Linked DNA regions of Homo sapiens: region 2 is linked to region 1. Evidence: promoter capture Hi-C in 16 types of primary human blood cells and fetal thymus (Javierre and others, 2016). All regions are on one chromosome and are shown on one strand. Each heading gives the region's core, a stretch centred on a gene start or on the middle of the fragment in contact. The rest is flanking DNA. Distances are from core to core; before and after follow the strand shown.

Region 1 (6,164 bases), core at 1,979-4,478:
AACAACAAAGAAAACATTATGGCTGGAATGAGAAACAATGGCCTTTTCAATAAACAGTGCTGGAATAACTGGACATTCATATGCAAAAAATAATCTAGATACAGACCTTATATCTTTTGAAAAAAATTTACTCAAAATGGATCATAGACCTAAATGCAAAACACAAAACTGTAAAACTTCTGAAAGATAACATAGGAGAAAATCTAGGTGAACTAGATAGATTTCATGCACTGGAATGAAGTGAAGGGGGAAAGTAGAAGGTGAGATAGCGGAGATAACAGAAGTCAGAGTATATAGGGCACTGAAGCCAGAATAAATAATGACTCTGGCTTTTACTCTGAGAGATGTAGGGAGTCACTGGGGGATTGTGAGTGGCAGAGTGACTTGATTGACACCTCAACAGGGTCATTCTGTCTTCTGTGCTGAGAACTGTCAGAGAGGGTACAACAGTGGACAGTGACTGCAGGGATACCAGCGAAGAAGTTGCTGCCATAATGCAGGTAAGAGAATGGAAGCTTGGACTATGGTTTTAGCTGAGCAAATGATCAGAAACAGAGTCTGGATTCTACAATGATTTGCTGATGGATCTGATGTGTGAAAGAGGGTCAAAATGTCTCAGTTTTAGGCTTGAGCAACGAACTGGAAGGCAGGAGCTGCCTGTAACGAGAGACAGGAGAGAAAGAGAGAGAGAGAGAGAGGACTTTGGAAGAGCAGGCTCATGATCAGGCCTGAGCTCAGTGTCTGAATTCAGGTAAGCTATCTTGAAAGGGGAAATATCAAAAGCTAGAGATCAGAGTAAGGCTGAGACTCAGAGTCAAGTGGGGAAGACTAAGTTGCAGTATGTACTGGCAGTGAAGATAAGTATTTATTCATTCATTGAACATACCTTGAAATCAACCACTTTTAATGTGCCAGGGACACAAAGATAGAAAAGACATTTGCCCTGTCTGGAAGGTACTAATAATCCAATAAGGAAAACAGAAATATAAATAAATTATTCTAGTACACTAACCATCATAGTAGAGGTATTCAACATTTGTTGAGTCTCTGCTATATGCCAAGCAGTGTAATGAGGAAGCAGAGGGTATGCACAAAGTTCTACAAGAGCACAAAATAAGTTCTGGCAAAGGTTTGTAAAGACATTCACAAGGGTTTTCACCACAGTATGACTTCAGGGAGTTGGCAGTAACCTAGATGCCCGATCAGTAGGGATATGTATGAATAAAATTTCTGGCATACTCGGTAGCAAACTAGGTGTACACACAGCAATGTGGGTATAGCTCAAAAACAGACTGTTGAGTAAAACAGTGGGAAATAGAGATTTACAGTCCAATACCATCTCTGTAAATGCAAGAGGCATAAACAAAACATTATCTGTGTTAAATTATCAAGGATCTCTATCGAACATATTGCAGCTTGTGTCTAGAAGAATGAGAGTGGGGATCGAGAAAGATGAGGAAAAAATAATATAAACACTATAAAATAATGTAAACAAGGACCCTGTAGGGACTGATATGACAATGTGCTGAAAATTGAGGAGCAAAGTTAACTCTCTGTACCTGAGATAAAATAACTAGCTAATAGGAATCCAGCTGAAAACCTTAAGGTGCAGGGCCTCTATGGGGCCCAGGAAGGATGTGTAGAGACATGAACGGATGAAAGTGCATCACAGGTTCAGGGAACAACACAGGTTGAGTGTGGCTTGTAGTAAAAATGGTTGTGAAGAGTTGACATATTTTTAAGCCCTGGGTAAATTGAACAACAGCTTACACTTGGAGGGGTATAATCATTCTAATCAATGTGTCCCCTTTTACTATAATACATTGGAGTTGCAGCTAATGCTCTGCTCCCATTCAGCCTATGATGAGATTCTCTTTCAGCCCTATTGGGTTCTTGGCCTCATGTGACTACTCCAAAGACCCTAGTCCAAAAGGTCTTTCCTGTTTGCTATGGCCTTGAGGAATGTGGCCCTAGATCCACCGCTTTAAAGCTGGAGTTCCACCAGCAGCAACATCCTCTCATTCTGGGGCACCTGCCTGGGGCAGGTCATCCTGCCTCTGCCAACTCAGTGCTATTAGTTAACTCTCACCTGCCATATTCCAGCTGGAATCATCTCCCCTTCTCCACCCCAGACTAGGTCATGTTCCGCCATCATGGAAGCGCCTATTCTTCATACCCCTTATCACAGCTGCAACTACTCATTTACTTGTCTGACAATTTGATTTATGTCCACCTACTTTGCTAGGTACTAAGTTCAATGCTGGCAGTCGTTTCTTCTTTTTTTTTCTTTTCTGTTTTGCTCACCGATTTCTCGTTAGCACTTAGCACAGTGTCTGGCACACGATAGATGCTCCGTCAACTTCTCAGTTGGATACCAGCATCCCGAAGGGAACATGGATTAAGGCAGCTATAAGCACGGTGTAAAAACAGGAATAAGAAAAAGTTGAGGTTTGTTTCACAGTGGAATGTAAAGGGTTGCAAGGAGGTGCATCGGCCCCTGTGGACAGGACGCATGACTGCTACACACGTGTTCACCCCACCCTCTGGCACAGGGTGCACATACAGTAGGGGCAGAAATGAACCTCAAGTGCTTAACACAATTTTTAAAAAATATATAGTCAAGTGAAAGTATGAAAATGAGTTGAGGAAAGGCGAGTACGTGGGTCAAAGCTGGGTCTGAGGAAAGGCTCACATTTTGAGATCCCGACTCAATCCATGTCCCTTAAAGGGCACAGGGTGTCTCCACAGGGCCGCCCAAAATCTGGTGAGAGAGGGCGTAGACGCCTCACCTTCTGCCTCTACGGGTCACAAAAGCCTGGGTCACCCTGGTTGCCACTGTTCCTAGTTCAAAGTCTTCTTCTGTCTAATCCTTCACCCCTATTCTCGCCTTCCACTCCACCTCCCGCTCAGTCAGACTGCGCTACTTTGAACCGGACCAAACCAAACCAAACCAAACCAAACCAAACCAGACCAGACACCCCCTCCCGCGGAATCCCAGAGAGGCCGAACTGGGATAACCGGATGCATTTGATTTCCCACGCCACTGAGTGCACCTCTGCAGAAATGGGCGTTCTGGCCCTCGCGAGGCAGTGCGACCTGTCACCGCCCTTCAGCCTTCCCGCCCTCCACCAAGCCCGCGCACGCCCGGCCCGCGCGTCTGTCTTTCGACCCGGCACCCCGGCCGGTTCCCAGCAGCGCGCATGCGCGCGCTCCCAGGCCACTTGAAGAGAGAGGGCGGGGCCGAGGGGCTGAGCCCGCGGGGGGAGGGAACAGCGTTGATCACGTGACGTGGTTTCAGTGTTTACACCCGCAGCGGGCCGGGGGTTCGGCCTCAGTCAGGCGCTCAGCTCCGTTTCGGTTTCACTTCCGGTGGAGGGCCGCCTCTGAGCGGGCGGCGGGCCGACGGCGAGCGCGGGCGGCGGCGGTGACGGAGGCGCCGCTGCCAGGGGGCGTGCGGCAGCGCGGCGGCGGCGGCGGCGGCGGCGGCGGCGGAGGCGGCGGCGGCGGCGGCGGCGGCGGCGGCTGGGCCTCGAGCGCCCGCAGCCCACCTCTCGGGGGCGGGCTCCCGGCGCTAGCAGGGCTGAAGAGAAGATGGAGGAGCTGGTGGTGGAAGTGCGGGGCTCCAATGGCGCTTTCTACAAGGTACTTGGCTCTAGGGCAGGCCCCATCTTCGCCCTTCCTTCCCTCCCTTTTCTTCTTGGTGTCGGCGGGAGGCAGGCCCGGGGCCCTCTTCCCGAGCACCGCGCCTGGGTGCCAGGGCACGCTCGGCGGGATGTTGTTGGGAGGGAAGGACTGGACTTGGGGCCTGTTGGAAGCCCCTCTCCGACTCCGAGAGGCCCTAGCGCCTATCGAAATGAGAGACCAGCGAGGAGAGGGTTCTCTTTCGGCGCCGAGCCCCGCCGGGGTGAGCTGGGGATGGGCGAGGGCCGGCGGCAGGTACTAGAGCCGGGCGGGAAGGGCCGAAATCGGCGCTAAGTGACGGCGATGGCTTATTCCCCCTTTCCTAAACATCATCTCCCAGCGGGATCCGGGCCTGTCGTGTGGGTAGTTGTGGAGGAGCGGGGGGCGCTTCAGCCGGGCCGCCTCCTGCAGCGCCAAGAGGGCTTCAGGTCTCCTTTGGCTTCTCTTTTCCGGTCTAGCATTGGGACTTCGGAGAGCTCCACTGTTCTGGGCGAGGGCTGTGAAGAAAGAGTAGTAAGAAGCGGTAGTCGGCACCAAATCACAATGGCAACTGATTTTTAGTGGCTTCTCTTTGTGGATTTCGGAGGAGATTTTAGATCCAAAAGTTTCAGGAAGACCCTAACATGGCCCAGCAGTGCATTGAAGAAGTTGATCATCGTGAATATTCGCGTCCCCCTTTTTGTTAAACGGGGTAAATTCAGGAATGCACATGCTTCAGCGTCTAAAACCATTAGCAGCGCTGCTACTTAAAAATTGTGTGTGTGTGTTTAAGTTTCCAAAGACCTAAATATATGCCATGAAACTTCAGGTAATTAACTGAGAGTATATTATTACTAGGGCATTTTTTTTTTAACTGAGCGAAAATATTTTTGTGCCCCTAAGAACTTGACCACATTTCCTTTGAATTTGTGGTGTTGCAGTGGACTGAATTGTTGAGGCTTTATATAGGCATTCATGGGTTTACTGTGCTTTTTAAAGTTACACCATTGCAGATCAACTAACACCTTTCAGTTTTAAAAGGAAGATTTACAAATTTGATGTAGCAGTAGTGCGTTTGTTGGTATGTAGGTGCTGTATAAATTCATCTATAAATTCTCATTTCCTTTTGAATGTCTATAACCTCTTTCAATAATATCCCACCTTACTACAGTATTTTGGCAATAGAAGGTGCGTGTGGAAGGAAGGCTGGAAAATAGCTATTAGCAGTGTCCAACACAATTCTTAAATGTATTGTAGAATGGCTTGAATGTTTCAGACAGGACACGTTTGGCTATAGGAAAATAAACAATTGACTTTATTCTGTGTTTACCAATTTTATGAAGACATTTGGAGATCAGTATATTTCATAAATGAGTAAAGTATGTAAACTGTTCCATACTTTGAGCACAAAGATAAAGCCTTTTGCTGTAAAAGGAGGCAAAAGGTAACCCCGCGTTTATGTTCTTAACAGTCTCATGAATATGAAATTGTTTCAGTTGACTCTGCAGTCAAAATTTTAATTTCATTGATTTTATTGATCCATAATTTCTTCTGGTGAGTTTGCGTAGAATCGTTCACGGTCCTAGATTAGTGGTTTTGGTCACTAGATTTCTGGCACTAATAACTATAATACATATACATATATATGTGTGAGTAACGGCTAATGGTTAGGCAAGATTTTGATTGACCTGTGATATAAACTTAGATTGGATGCCACTAAAGTTTGCTTATCACAGAGGGCAAGTAGCACATTATGGCCTTGAAGTACTTATTGTTCTCTTCCAGCAACTTATGATTTGCTCCAGTGATTTTGCTTGCACACTGACTGGAATATAAGAAATGCCTTCTATTTTTGCTATTAATTCCCTCCTTTTTTGTTTTGTTTTGTAACGAAGTTGTTTAACTTGAAGGTGAATGAAGAATAGGTTGGTTGCCCCTTAGTTCCCTGAGGAGAAATGTTAATACTTGAACAAGTGTGTGTCAGACAAATTGCTGTTATGTTTATTTAATTAAGTTTGATTTCTAAGAAAATCTCAAATGGTCTGCACTGATGGAAGAACAGTTTCTGTAACAAAAAAGCTTGAAATTTTTATATGACTTATAATACTGCTGTGAGTTTTAAAAGTAAAGCAAAAGTAAACTGAGTTGCTTGTCCAGTGGGATGGACAGGAAAGATGTGAAATAAAAACCAATGAAAAATGAACTGCTGTGGAGAAGTGTTACATTTATGGAAAAAGAAATAGGAACCTTGTTCATCAAATTGATAGAAAAGCTTTTAAAACTAAACAAATCAAACAACTTGAGTATAATGGAATTCAGACTTTGATTTGCCTAACATAACCACCATATTTGCAAGGACAGCTCTCTATCTTCTGGTGTTTATTCTTAAAAACTTAAAAGTTAGATTTAGCGATCACCAGAGCCACTACTTTTATGCTTAGGTATTTGTTTGACTTAGAAAAAATTGGTCACGTGTACCACTTTATAGTGCCCTGCAGGTGTTA
Region 2 (6,164 bases), core at 1,780-4,279, 1.7 Mb after region 1:
CCATGTCACTTTCTATAGCCTCCCATGTCACTTTCTATGGCCTCCCATGTCACTATGGCCTCCCATGTCACTTTCTATGGCCTCCCTTGTCACTTTCTATGGCCTCCCATGTCACTTTCTATGGCCTCCCATGTCACTTTCTATGGCCTCCCATGTCACTTTCTATAGCCTCCCATGTCACTTTCTATAGCCTCCCATGTCACTTGGAGGCACAACAGTGGTCTCATTTCTCAAGCCATGAGCCCGGGAATCACCCTGCATTCTTTTTCCCACACTGTCACGTTCAGTCACCACATCCTGTCCACTGTAAAGTCCAGATTTCTCCTGAATCCCGTGCCCACTTCCTATCCTGATGATGACTGCCTAGTGAGGCCTTCTTCGGCACCATCCGCCTACCACTTCAGCAACCCCTTACTAACCTCCCGCCTCCAGCCCAAACGCCCTGCAGGCTGCTCCTCACTCTGGTAAAGTACATTCTTGCCCACAAAATTGAAATCTGGGACCAGGCCCAGAGCTTCCCAAAAGTTCTCAGTACATAGGTACATGGGGAATTTAGTAATTCCTCCATAGACCTCTAGGCCAAAAGAAATCCCTAATGTGGCTGGGAATGCCAACAGTTGCACTGATTTAAGTAATTACATCTAACTTAGTAAGTATTTCTAAGTAGCCACTAGAAAAAATAATTCATATAAATCTAAAGAAAAATGTTAATATTATTCTTAAATAACCAAAACTAATTCCCAGTGGGATGCGTGTGCCTGTCAGGTAGCTCACCATTTCCCACGCCTTGGAATCAGACAAGGTGCTCCCACTCGTTACCTGTTCTTCACCCGGATTTTCACACAGCATTAGCCTTTTTTGTTTTCACAGCAACTGCTGAAAACCCAGCTTCTTAAAGATACGACGTCACTGAAAGGAATGCAGTGTGGCCTAAAAATAAACCTGTAAACTATTTCAAGCTAGTAGTTTGTATGGTGTCCCAACAAATGTCAGGTATTACTGTTTTCCTCAAAATGTCCACTATCCCCTGGTGCCCTGTGAGTGCACTGGGGTGCCTGGGGCACTTCAGCACATGCTCTGTGGGCTGAGGACGTGGCCCCTATTTGCCCCAATCCCTCTGTAGAGGCTCCCTCTCTTCTCAACTCCCACAGTTCCTTCCTTTCCACCTTGTGCTCCCGTCGGATCTGAATCGCCACAGTCCACTCAGCTGATGGAGTGTTTCCTGCCTCTAGGCTTCAATGTGTCCCAAAAATGCCATCCCTTCCCTCCCAACACAGGGCTTCCTGGCAGACCCTCAACTCCTCCTTCCCATCTCTGTATGAGCCTACTCCAGACCACCCCCTCACCAACATAGGTACTGTTCTTGCATCACAGGAGGAGGGAGCTCAGCTCCTGGTATGTTGTTTCTTCCAAGGGCAGGAATGCCTAGAGTGTGAATATATGAAAGACTTACTTTCTGTAATTCAGGCCCAATGCAGTCCTAGTCCTTGTATAGTTGTCCCTCAGTATCTGTGGGGGATTGGTTCCAGGACCCCCTGTGGATACCAAAATCCATGGATGCTCAAGTCCCTGATATAAACTGGGAATTGTAGGGAGGGTGAAAGTGGACCATCAGATACTCTCCCTCCACGGCTCACTCCTACCTACCACTATACCCATGCTGTGGCCTTTCCACCAGCATGAAAATCAGGGAATAGCTCCCCTTGTTCAAGGCCAAACCCTTCCTGGTGCTCTAGGTCCCATTCTCCCTGAGTCCCACAGGGCCTTGCTCCATCACCGTCCCTCTGTCTACATACCTTCCCCTCACGCCCATACCTGGGGTCTAGGCTTATATGCCTGACCCACCCTACAGCTGCTATGTTTACTTCCTAAGCCAACTGCAGTCTTCTCCCTTCACTCTTCATCCACACGGCTCAAAACCAGGCATCTACAGCCTCTAGTTCTCCCCTCAACCCATCAGTATTCAGCTTTGGGCCCTCAGCTTCTATGCAGTTATGTAGTTATGTGCCCGGGCTTTAGAGTCGGGCTGACTCAAACGGAATCCTGGTCCTGCCCCTTCACATGTGGCCATGAACAAATGACTTATCTTCTCTGGACCTACCTCACAGAGTTAGTTAGTAAGAAAACTACCACATGTAATGTGCCTCGCACAATGCCTGGCACACAGTAAGTGCTCAATAAACGTTATCTGCAATTACTTTCATTACTATTATTACTAGTCCTGGTATTTTATTCATCTGCATATCCTCTATGCTTAGGGAAAAAGGGCTTGGCATCTAGTAAATACTTGATAAATGTTTATTGAATGAATAAACAAACACAGGGGCACATCAGGATAAGCTAACCAGACAGCAGGGGAGGTGCTAAATCATGGGGTCTGAGGTGGGGAGATGGTCAGTTTTGAGTGTCAACTTGGCTGGGCTATAGTACCCAGTTATTTAATCAAACACTAAGCTTGCTGTTGCAGTGAAGGTACTGACTTTGAATAAAGGAGACTACCCTCCATAGCATGGGTGGGCCTCATGCAATCAGGTGAAGGCCTTAAAAGCAAAAACTGTGGTTTCCTGGAGAGGAAAAAATTCTGTGCCAGGACTGCAGTGTCAACTCCTCCTAGGTCTCCAGCCTGTTCACCTGCCCTGGAGATTTCAGACTTGCCAGCCCCACAGTAATGTGAGCCAGTTCCTTAACTCTCTTTATACATATATCTGTATCTAACCTATCAGTTCTGTTTCTGTCTGATTGATACAGGATGTGAAGCTGGGAGAAGGCTGATGTCCTGGGTGAAAAGCTAGTGTTCTAAGTGAAGAAAGAAAAATTGTTATTTCCATCATCTTTTGTTGCCTTGTTGTCTCATGATGTAGAGTTGGTAATGATCAAGCTCTTCCTAACAAAGGGTAAGAAATTGACATCTGAATAACTGAGCAAAATATTTTACTTTTGAAAACATTCTTTTTTTTTTTTTTTAAGACGGAGTTTCATTCTGTCACCCAGGCTGGAGTGCAATGGTTCAATCTTGGCTCACTGCAACCTCCGCCTCCTGGGTTCAAGAGATTCTCCCGCCTCAGCCTCCGGAGAAGCTGGGATTACTGGCGCATGCCACCACACCCGGCTAATTTTTGTATTATTAGTAGAGATGGGGTTTCACCATGTTGGCCAGGCTGGTCTCAAACTCCTGACCTCAAGTGATCCACCTGCCTTGACCTCCCAAAGTGGAAAACATTCTTAAATATATGAAATCTCACCTCTAGTGACCTGTCATGTCGAAAGCCCCAAACGCAAGCTGCAACAGACACCGGGGAAACAAAGAACAGCGGCATGAAGACCAGGAGCCAGAAATGGCTTCCTCTCTCGATTCTGTCACAGACCAGAACTTCAAACATCAACAAGAGCAAGTGGATGCCCACTGCAATCAACATGGCTTTAAACTCCACACACGTTTCTCCTTCTGCTCTAAAAAAGGGAGAGAAGAAGAAAACACCCTCAGTTCAGAATCTCCACTATAAGCAAGCAGTTCAGGGCAAATACCAACTTATATTTATACTTTGAATTTTACTTGAAAATTTGACAAAAGCAAAGGGAAATCAGGTAGAAAGCTAACTTAAACCTAAGCTTTGGTAGGCAATCTCTGAAACATCGAAGAACTACTACATAATACAAAATGAACATTACAACCAAACCAGAATTTAATGTTTTAACCGTATAAGGATATTCTCAAAAGTAATAGCCAGTTCTTATTTCCCTGACAATGTACATAAACACTTCTGTTCACATCTTTAAATTCAACAACAAGAGTTACTTCCAAGATTATTCAAGCTGATTTGCTTCTGCTGCTAAAACCAGGCAAATACCCCTTAAGTCTCATGATCCTCATTTTTCAAGAAACCATGTAAACCACCCTTCACACAATATTATAAAAATAACTCTAGTTCTATGAACAAGTGCCAGTTATATTTCAAGATAGTAGTAACTATTGTTAGGTGCTATTTTTAAATGCAAATAAAACGTATAAATGATTTTCATTTTCCTTTCTATTCCATTAAGATAAATTAACACCTGCACATGAAAGAGAAAGAAGAACAAGAGTTAAAACTGTTCTCAAACAAAATCAGTTTAATTAGCTAAGTATCATGCACAATAACCTTAACAGATCTACAATTGAGCAATGGTAAGGCCGCTAATCAGGAAAAGGCTCTATAATGCATCTGAAAGGCCTACAATGTTTATTCAAAATACAGATGAACATTTATGATATACATGTATTGTGGGTGACAAATACACCGGAAGTTAGATCATAGAGAAAATGCTATCAGAGGTTATTCCTGTAGGACCCAACCATGTTCCACTGGTTAATGTTAACATGAGAATGACCACGCCTGTACATTCCTTACATTCAACCCCACATACACAATTCCTTTCCTTGCTCAAAACATCTTAAATAAGACCAACAAAGAGAAGTTTGAATATATTCTAAATATCAATTAGTAGAACCTAAATGTTTATTTAACTTTGCATTCTTTGAGAAGCAATTAATATTAGATATCTGAAAATATCTCATAAAAAAATAAAACACATACAGCCACACAGGTCATCAATCTTTCAAAAAAAATCTAAGAACTCTGAAACAGCTATACATGAATGTCCCTCACCTGCCAAGGCTCTCTGTGTAACTGTTTTACAGTTCTTAGACATGTATGTGATATGTAATTTACACAATCTGAATCATTTTCATATTTAGTAAACAAAAATTTAAAAAGTTGATGTAGTGGCCGGACGTGGTGGCTCACACCTGTAATCCCAGCACTTCAGGAGGCCAAGGCGGGTGGATCACCTGATGTCAGGAGTTCAAAACTAGCCTGGCATGGTGAAACCCTATCTCTACTAAAAATACAAAAAATTAGCTGGGCATGGTGGCAGGTGCCTGTAATCCCAGCTACTCAGGAGGCCGAGGCAGGAGAATCACTTGAACCCGGGATGTGGAGGCTGCAGTGGGCCGAGATCACACCATTGCACTCCAGCCTGGGCAACAAGAGCGAAACTCTGTCTCAAAAAAAAAAAAAAAAAAAAAAAAAAAAAAGGTGCGGTAGTTTCAACTTTACACTTTTCCCACATGAGCAGCTGCCTTCTGGGAATTCCTGTACTCCTCATTTTCCCAGTGGAGGTTCATAATAGCCTCCCAGTCTTAAGTCCCCCTTTTTCCCTTTATGTAGTTACAGTCTCTGTGGCAGAGAAGGGAAAGACTCTCGCAGGTCCCAGCAACAAGCAGGTTGCATGCTGGCGTGAGCCAACTCCCAGGAATTTGGGCCAGCGGAGGCATCCAAGAGCAGGGAGGGCAAGAGTTGGAAACGGTAAAGGGTACCCCTCTCCCCTGCCCCCAAAGGCTCTGCTTTCCTTCTCGGCATCCAATCTTTGACTTTCCTCATTCCCCAGCTGCTGTCTCAGGGACTCATGGTCTCCTGGTCAAGCCACCTCCCCTACACTGCTAATAGTCCTAAAGCTCTGGGACTAGGAGGGTGGGACAAGGGGAGCCCCAGTTCCAAAACTGTATTGGAGAAAGATCTTTCATGACCAAACATAATATGAGTGTCTTTTCCTAAAAACAGGGTGGTTTCATGCTGCTTAGTCTAGTATGGCATACCAGTTCTGTATTTTGGGTGCATTTTGGATTATATAGGCATCTGTGAGCTGGCTGGCAACTTACCCCCAAATGGCACTGCTTTTGTAAGAAAATACATACCAAAGACTAAATTTTCAAAAACACAGAAGAGATCTGTTAGCTTATACTATAGTTCTAAGACCCCAGATAGGTAGAAAATAAAATGGTCCTTACTTCATCAAAAGTGAGAAAAGTCAAGATATTGCTCCCTCATGCTAGAGACCAATGGGTTGTATAAAGCAGTATTACCGATATTGAGGATTTCGTGCCCAGACTCCAGTTCCAACTGAGGCTCCAACAATGACCATTAACTTCCACAGCCATATTGGAGCAAAGACAGCCCAGTAACTCCACTGTATGATGCCATCCAAACGAAGGGCCAGCAGCACAGAGAACAGCAGCAGACAGGCATAGATGAGGAATTTACTAGGAGAAAAGTAAAACGATTAAGAAGGATTCACTTTTACAAATATGTGATACTGAAATGGGGAGTAATAAGAGCCACATTTGT

What was found. Contacts are between HindIII fragments. The CHiCAGO score rates a contact against its expected background, and 5 or more counts as called.
Region 2: a fragment that was not itself captured here is called in contact with the fragment with the promoter of FMR1-AS1 in region 1 in 4 of 17 cell types (total CD4 T cells, neutrophils, total B cells and 1 more); the score reaches 6.6 in total CD4 T cells.

Annotation. Positions count from the first base shown.
Region 1 is chrX:147,908,589-147,914,752 of GRCh38, forward strand. FMR1-AS1 (FMR1 antisense RNA 1) reads right to left here and starts at 3,229. Exons shown (of 2, transcript NR_024503.3): 1 at 3,054-3,229; 2 at 843-2,407. FMR1 (fragile X messenger ribonucleoprotein 1) reads left to right here and starts at 3,331. Exons shown (of 17, transcript NM_002024.6): 1 at 3,331-3,642. The coding sequence starts at 3,592. RefSeq lists enhancers at 2,862-3,071, 3,652-3,751 and a silencer at 3,152-3,491. The HindIII fragment of the contact is 5,224 bases long and covers 514-5,737 here.
Region 2 is chrX:149,605,385-149,611,548 of GRCh38, forward strand. TMEM185A (transmembrane protein 185A) reads right to left here. Exons shown (of 7, transcript NM_032508.4): 2 at 5,903-6,079; 3 at 3,243-3,450. Among named protein-coding and RNA genes, the nearest start is that of HSFX2, 13 kb to the left of the region's middle. The HindIII fragment of the contact is 1,155 bases long and covers 2,453-3,607 here.